Linked DNA regions of Homo sapiens: all the other regions are linked to region 2. The links are contacts of gene promoters, found by promoter capture Hi-C in human tissues and cell types (Jung and others, 2019). All regions are on one chromosome and are shown on one strand. The core of a region is centred on a gene start or on the middle of the fragment in contact, and the rest is flanking DNA. Distances in the headings are between cores, read along the strand shown.

Evidence for each region. Contacts are between HindIII fragments. The study calls those that stand out against the background at their distance.
Region 1: a fragment that was not itself captured here is called in contact with the fragment with the promoter of TMEM244 in region 2 in 1 of the 25 tissues and cell types used here (H1 embryonic stem cells).
Region 3: a contact is called between a fragment that was not itself captured here and the fragment with the promoter of TMEM244 in region 2, in 2 of the 25 tissues and cell types used here (aorta and hippocampus).

What each region holds. Positions count from the first base shown.
Region 1 is chr6:130,252,625-130,255,642 of GRCh38, reverse strand. It overlaps a transcript of SAMD3 not described here. Among named protein-coding and RNA genes, the nearest start is that of SAMD3, 31 kb to the right of the region's middle. The HindIII fragment of the contact is 7,672 bases long and covers 1-3,018 here.
Region 2 is chr6:129,859,943-129,862,783 of GRCh38, reverse strand. It overlaps TMEM244 (transmembrane protein 244), which reads left to right and starts at 1,469. Exons shown (of 5, transcript NM_001010876.2): 1 at 1,469-1,628. The coding sequence starts at 1,596. The region is part of intron 2 of LOC105377999 (a long non-coding RNA gene); the gene reads right to left. The HindIII fragment of the contact is 10,214 bases long and covers 1-2,841 here.
Region 3 is chr6:129,580,661-129,583,409 of GRCh38, reverse strand. All of the region lies in intron 13 of ARHGAP18 (Rho GTPase activating protein 18), which reads left to right. Among named protein-coding and RNA genes, the nearest start is that of ARHGAP18, 130 kb to the left of the region's middle. The HindIII fragment of the contact is 6,052 bases long and covers 1-2,749 here.

The sequences.
Region 1 (3,018 bases), core at 454-2,953, 390 kb before region 2:
TGTAATAAAACCAAAAGTAGGGAAAAAGATATTTCACACAAAGGATTCAAAAGAGAACAAGGATAGCTATTCTTAGATAAAATATACTTTAAATTTAAAACTGTAGAAAAGCGATCAATTCATCAAGAGGATATAACAATTGTAAATATTTATGCACCCAATATTTGAACACATAAATATATAAAGCAAATGTTAAAGGATCTGAAAAGAGAGATAGATTGCATACAATAATAGTAGGGGGCTTCAATACCCTATTATCAACAATGAGCAGATCATCCAGATAGAAAATTAATAAGGAAACACTGGACTCAAACAATGCTTTAGATCAAATGGACCTAACTGATGTTGCAGAACATTACATCCAACAGCAACAGAATATGGGTTCTTTTTAAGCACACACAGAACATTCTTCACGATAGATCATATCTTAGACCACAAGACAACTCTTACCAAAGTTAAGAAAACTGAAATCATATAAAGTACCATTTTCTGATCACAATGGTATGAAACTAGAAGTCAATAACAAGAGGAATTGTGGAAAGTTTACAAATACTTGGAAAGTAAACAACATTCTCCTGAACAACAAATAGGTCAATGAAGAAATTAAAAGAGAAATTGAAACAATATCTTGAGACAAACATGGAAACACAACATACCAAAACTTATGAAATGCCACAAACACAGTTTGAAGAGGAAAGTTTTAAGCAATGATTATTTACATCAAAAAAGAAGAAAGATATAAAATAAACAACTGTACACCTCCAGAAAATTTAAAAGCCAATTCTACCAAACATTTAAAGAAGAACTAATACCAATTCTTCAAAAATTTCCCAAAAAGTCAAAGAGGAGGGAATACTTTGACACTCCTTTTATGAGGCCACTATTACCTTGATTCCAAAGCCAGACAAAGATATCACAAGAAAAGAGTAATGAAGAATCATCTGAGAAACAAAGCAAAACTATCCAGTTATGTATAAGGAGGAAAAATCAGGCTGGCTTCAAACTCTTCACAGCAGTATTCAATACTGGCTTACACCTGTAATCCCAGCACTTGGGGAGGCCAAGGCAGGCAGATTGCTTGAGCCTAGGAATTTGAGACCAGCCTGGGCAACATGGCAAAACCTTATCTCTACTAAAAATACAAAAAGGCAGGACTCGGTGGCTCATGCCTGTAATACCAGCACTTTAGGAGGCTGAGGTGGGTGGATAACCTGAGGTCGGGAGTTCGAGAGTGGCCTGCCCAACATGGCCAAAGCCTGTCTCTATCAAACATACAAAAGATTAGCCAGGTGTGGTGGCAGGGCACCTGTAATCCCAGCTACTCGGGAGGCTGAGGGAGGAGAATTCCTTGAACCTGGGAGGCAGAGCTTGCAGTGAGCTGAGATCACGCCACTGCACTCCAGCCTGGGCAATAAGAGCAAAACTCTGTCTCAGAAAATAATAATAATAAAATAAATAAATAAATAAATAAAAATACAAAAAGTTAGCTGAGCGTAGTGGCACACACTTGTAGTCCCAGATACTTGGGAGCTGAGGTAGGCAAATCAAGTGAGCCCAGGAAGTCAAGGCTGCAGTGAGCCATGATCTTGCTCCTGCACTCCAGCCTGGGTGACAGGAGTGAGACTTTGTCTCAAAAAAAAAGATGGGTAACTACAGCAAAATGCTTACTGGGACATTTTGAATGTATCTAATTACAGACCTCAGACCAAAACAAACATGAGCAATACAGTAACAGGAGAGAATTTAAATGTTATATACCCTAACAATGAAGATACACTAATAACAGGAGGAGAGGTAAGGGGTAAATAACATTATTTAATGATGAAAAATCACATAAAAGAGGTATAAGCACATTTATTAGTACAAAGATATACCCCCCTCCACCAAAAAAAAATAATAATTTTAATTTGGTGGCAAGGAAGAAATAGAAGGAAATATTACACTAATTTATTTCTTAAAATAGAAAGCATTGATATTTACTTTAAAAGGTGAGAATATAAAATTATACATATAACACATATTTAAAATCTTATATTCTATAAATATAGCATTGTTGAGTTATATTTATAAAATTATAGAAAAATGCAAGTTCTCTTAACTGTCAGAAGACTTCTGCAAATAAGACAAGAAAATGGATCACATTGTTAATGATTTTTAAGCCCTAAAATATTCAAAATAACACACAAGGTAAATACCTAGAATTAAAGATATTATCATATCAATAAATGTAAGCTCATCTATTGAAAAAGAATTTTAGGTAGTAGCTCAAGATGGTTGTAGCCCACTGGTTCCAACTAAACAAGGACTGCACCCAGACTCACAAGAACTTGAAGTTTTCCTCTATTCTTTCTGCCTCCGAGAGAAGCCAGAGCTGGACTCACACAAGGATAAGAAAAAGAGCTCACTTATTTTTGTCTTATTTCAAATTACTTCTACCACAGGAAACTTGTCACTAATAAAGAGTTCCCAGAAAAGGATGTGCTGGAAGTAGTGAAGTTTTATAACACTGCATCTCCTGCGCAATTGCTAAGGAAAGGATACAGCACAATATGAACTGAACTTCACTAGGTTGTGTAAAGTATGTACACAGAATCCTGCAGAGGCATGGAAAAAACCTGACCCAGATGGCCTTCACCTGTCTGATTACTGGAAATGTAAACAGCTAATCAAGAATGGCGTTTTCTGTAAGTATGGAAATTATGACTAAAATAATTTTACCAATGTCATCGTCTTAAAACCTACCAAAAAGCAAAGATTCTTCAGGAGAGCAGATACCCAATATAGACTGAGAATGTAACACCAAAATTCCAGGGATCGAGAGAACCCTTCCACAGAGCGCATCTCTGAAGCTTGCTCCTGTGCCACAGCTGAATTAATAGTTGAAGCTAAGCCTACCAGTGGACAGCTGTTTTGGTTGCCACAAAGGAATTCCAACCCAAATCCAGGAAACCAAAAACAAACGACACTTCAGGCGGCAGAAACCCTTTCAAGTTTCTACTTGTGTTTTCTTAGCTAGTG
Region 2 (2,841 bases), core at 220-2,719:
TACAAAGAGATATGACTTCACCCCAGTTAAAATGGCTTTTATCCCAAAACAGGCAATAACAAATGCTGGTGAGGATGTGAAGAAAAGGACACCCTCATACACTGCTGGTGGGAATGTAAATTAGTACAGCCACTATGGAGAACAGTTTGGAGGTTCCTCAAAAGAGAAAAATAGGACTGCCATATGATCCAGCAATCCCACTGCTGAGCATATACCCCAAAGAATGGAAATCAGTCTATCGGAGAGGTATCTGCATGCCCATGTATATTGCAGCATGTTTCACAATATCCAAGATTAAGAAACAACCTAAATGTCCATCAACAGACAAGTGGATAAAGAAATGTGGTACAGGTACAGAATAGAATTCAGCCAAAGGAAAGAATGAAATCCTGTCATTTGCAACAATATGGATGGAACTGGAGGTCCTTATGTTAAGTGAAATAAACCAGGCACAGAAAGACAAACTTCATATGTTCCTACTTATTTGTGGGAACTAAAAATGGAAACAATTGAACTCATTGAGATGGAAAGTAAAAGAATGGTTACCAGAAGCTGGGAAGGGTAGTGGGAGAAAAGGGGGAGTGTGGGGATGGTTAATGCATACAAAAAAGAGAGAGAATGTATAAGATCTAGTATTTGATAGCACAACAGAGTGACTATAGTCAATAATAATTTAATTGTACATTTAAAAATAACTAAAAGGGTATAATTGGATTGCTTGTAACACAAAGAATAAATGCTTGAGGTGATGGAAATCCCACTTACCTTGATGTGATCATTACATATTAGATGCCTATATCAAAATATATCATGTACCCCATAAACTCTATGGGGTATATTACTATATTACTATGTAATCACAGCAATTAAAAATTAAAATAAAAATAATAATAGAGTTGGTGCCAGTAAAAAGATGGGAGAATGAATTGTAAATGAAGGATTGGTTCTGGAGCCTCAGGACGCAGAGAGACAGAGCTCCAATACTGCCTCCTGGCAGTTCTTGAAAACATTCTACCCACAATATTGTGGCCATTATTTTAGAGTATGGGAACCCTTTTGTTTCCTAACAAAAAGTCATAAGTTTTACATTTCTTTGCCATGATGTGAAAGGAACTGATGATTTCTTTCTCAGAACTCTGTGGCCCTTGTGAGTGAAACAGAGAGGACAGGCCACGCTTCAACATGAATGCAGCAGCATCCTTTGGAAACAATCTCAAGACCTAACTGAAAACCCATGTTTCTAATTTAAGTATGAGACAGTAATTACTCATACAGCCAGAGAGGATTCCAAGTCCCTGCCTATTTGCCGCACTATCTAAAAACAATCAACTCATCTTTCAAATCTGACCAAACTACAAATGGTATGAGAACTCCATCGTTTAATAAGGATGTTCATTTTGGCACTTAGCAGCTTACGCGTGGCTCACAGATGGCATCTGTCTCGTTTTGCGTAATCCAATCATCCTGCACTACTGCGTCTCACACTTAGTCTCCAGGAGTAATTGAAAAGCTCACGGTGACAATTGTGTCTTCTTCCAGATGTCATCGCTATAAGGAGTGGGGCTTTCATCACCTCCTTGACGTAGGATGTGTACATGGCTCTCCAGGTCAGAGTTGCTCCAAGCAAGGTAAAGAGAAATTACTTCTTTGCATTGCCTTTCAGTTGCTGCCTAGCACTGGTGTAAATGAATATGTTCTATAAATGGCCTCTCTGTCAGTGGGCAACTTGTTTCACTTTTGGCTGGGTACCATACAGAAAACATTCTGCTGCACGGCTTGCATCTTGTGGTAATAGGGCAATATAAAGGCACCCATGCCCAAGAAAGGATTCTAAAACATGTAAATAGTCGCTGTTTAGAAGGCACCATTTTATTCGGAGGTAAGCTCTCTGGTATTAGCACCTGCACGTCTGCTATCGTTTTCTGAAATCATGACAGTTTGTTCTCAATCTTTTTTTCTTTTTTTTTTTTGCAGGGAGTGGCTTTTATTTTTGTAACTTCTAAAGGGTGCGCAAAATTTTAAATGCAAAGTGTTGAAACATTTCAAGCTGTAGGTTTGTTAGTTTCTTTTTCCCCCGAGGCTAGTGTTAATAGTTGTGTTTTACTTCAGTGCAAAAATACCCCTTTAAAAAAAAATCAAACAATCGAAAACAAGGAAATATGCAAAGCCTCAAAGCAGCTGTGTAAATTCATACAGGCTTTAGGCCTATAATGAGCCAGACTTAAGGGAATGATAGTGGAAAATCAGATTTTTACTTAAAAATTAAATTACAATTATGAGTGAGTGCTACATTCATTTTAGTAAAATATCAGCACCGTGTGTATTTCCTCAAGCTTTTTCTTTACACTACCATCATCACCACATATGTCATCAGTGAGAAATGTTGAGCATGACAACAGCTAAGAAAAATTTTCAAGGTCAGTAAAACATTATTTCAGGAAAAATATTTTTAAAAAGCTTATTTTTAAGGGGTTATTAAACTTCGTAATTTATGTATAGATTTGGGATTGAACTAGCAATAATAACTTCTGCTGAAGAGATAAAAATTAGAAGATAAAATCCTTTCTCTTAAGTAGCTTACACAAAGAATGGGGGCTCTATATTTAGTCGGGGCTTACACAGACCAGACAGACAGACACACACACACACACACACACACACACACACACACACACACACGCATTGCAGAGAAAATATCCAGATAGTTGCTGCAGTTCCTCACTATCTTAGAATCATCTGAGCTTCAAGTGTAGAATTAGAGCCTTAGAACATTAGAAGAATAGTGAATATGTTCAAAATAGATAGGTTGTTGACTATCTGAATTCTCATGATACATCCCTA
Region 3 (2,749 bases), core at 223-2,722, 280 kb after region 2:
CATTTGAAAGCTGCTAGCATCCCTCTCACTATATTAGAGTATGCCCTTTCCAGAACACTTTGCAGTGTCTTCTTATATTTTAGAGATCCTAACAAGTATATTGTATTTTCAGGTTTTGCCCTTTGAATTCTTTCTTTTAGCTGAAGTCATGTTTTCATGCCTCCTCCAGCCTCATTTTCAGTCACTGAAATAAACTAAATGTTTAAAAACAGAGGGACATCCAGGGCATTGGCATCTCAGTTTACGAATACTCTGTCTTGGTCTTTCATTGAATTTAATCTCCTCATTCTAACATTTGGGGGCTTCAATCAAGCTTTCTGCTAAAGCACAAGGCCTTAAACAGAACAGAAACATGTTAAATACTTCTAGTACCATAATTGGAAGGGGAGGTATAAACATATATTTTAAAGTACCTTCCCATAGGGTTTATAAATTGGGAGAAAGGATGAATCTGTGCAGCTAACAGATGGTGATGAAATGAGAGAGAGGCTTATTGGTAATATCTAGGCTTCAATAAGCCAGTGTAAACTTCCCTCAGAACAGCACTCTGAAGTAAGTGCTATTATTACGTCTGCTTCACTGATAAGAAAACAGAGATTTACAAGGTCACACATTTTTCATAGGTGGTAGAGCTGGAATTCTAAATCTGTGGTTTCCCTCCAAAGGTAGTCCCTTAACCATTCTCCACACTGGCTGGAGGATCTACAGAGCATCATAGATCTGGGAACCACTAGTGCAGAGACTGAGAGTAGATGTGTTTTTGGAGATTATGTCCTGAGGGCACTTGGAAGATCTCAGATGTCTTTGCTCCCTATAGTGTCTTGCAGTTTCTGCAAAGTCAATCCACATCCTCTCTGCTCCCTACCTTGACTTAGTAGATACTAACTTTTGCCATTCTTCCCACCAGCCATGCTCTCATTCTCTCCCAGAACGTGTACCTGAAGACCTGGCCAGACTTCAGATATAAGCAGCTCTTTCCAGCCAGACACAGTTAATTTACATTTACTTTCAGGACCCAAGTGCTCAATTTAGTCTGTACTTTTGTTCCTCTACTTGCTAATAATATGAGACTATGAAGCTGTACCCCACATTCAACTGTGACTTTAATATTTAAGGTATAGCATGAAAACAATCATAGTCATATTGTTATAGAAAGCACCAACTTGTGACAACTATCGTCTGACAAATTTGGATTTTCTGCTTGTGGTGTTTGTATTAAATAAGCATTTGCTACCCCCAGAGCAGGGTATCTTCATCCCGCTCTTCCTCCTATTCCTTCTCCACCTAGATGGAAGTCTGGTAAACTTCTCCATTTACCTCACTTCCGCCCCCAGTCCTCAGCCCCTTTCCTTATGCTTGGGGATGTAATCTGGATTTCAAAGCTAACTATTTCTGTTTCACCTTCAGTTAGTTTTTATCATCTCTTTAAGTATCAAGTTCCTCATTTGTAAGAATGGACCAGAATAGCATCTATTATTGTAATTAACTAGGAAAATGACCATGCAGCATATAGCACTGTCTGTCTGGGCCGCATAGTAAGTGAAATTCTGAGTAAATGTTTATATATTTCTTCCACCACATTCCTGTGCTTCTTCCATTTGTATTCCACCTGTGCTGGGGCAGGTAGAAACTCTATATCCTTCCATTCTTTTTCTCCCCCACCTCGTCAACTGAAGCCAATGGACATATGAATGATATACAATATATGTATAATAAATCGCACGTTCATTCATTCTTTGGTAAAGGATTGTTGCCTTTAACGATGAATTTGTTGATTAGCATTACGCAAAAATCTGAATATACCAGGAAATCTAGTTCCTGTTTCTTTAAAGTAGAACACAGGTACTTGAGAATCAGTCTGACAGCAATATCTAACTAGATGTTTTTCTTTAAATCAAGTCTCCTGAAACATTCAATTTGGTTTTCACAGAAATAGGGACTCTCTTTAGACCTATAGTAGTTGATTGTGTTATGTACTAGATTAAAAACAAAAATAATAATGATTAAATTATTTAATTTAAAAGATAAACCTACACTGTAGTTGGAAACAAAGTGGATCAGATGCAGTGCAGCAGGTGGAACATAGCGTGAGGGCCCAGAGAGCCCTGACTGTCCAGTGTGCCAGGGACACAGGGCAGGGAGAGAAAGGAGGAGAACCAGATGAGCCATTCCATGGGTGGTGAGGAGCGCTGCTGCTGTACCATGCTCTTCCTAATGGCTTGAATACAAGTCAGACCTGATTTTCTCTTCTCAGTTCCAGAGAGTGTGTCTTCAGGGCCTTATCTTAGTGGTCCACTAACCTTGCCATGCTTCAGAATCCACTATAGAGCATTTGAAAAGCAGTTTCTTGGGCTTTATCCTAGACCAGTTAAATCTGAGTTTCTAGAGCTCTCCATCTGAATTTTTAGCAGGTTTCTCAGGTAATTCTTTTACAGAAAGATAATGACATAATTTGCTTCCACTCTGAGGGTCTGTGCTGCCCTCATTTGCACAACTGACAGAAGAGAATGGCTTATTCTTTTTTTTTTCTTTTTGGAGACAGGATCTCATTCTGTCACCCAGGCTGGAGTGCAGTGGCACAATCTCAGCTCACTGCAACATCCATCTCCTGGGCTCAAGCAGTCCTCCCACCTCAGCCTCCCGAGTAGCTAGGATCACAGACACTCACCACCATGCACGGCTAAATTTTTTGTATTTTGGGTAGAAATGGGGTTTTGCCATGTTGCCCAGACTGGGCTCAAGCGATCTA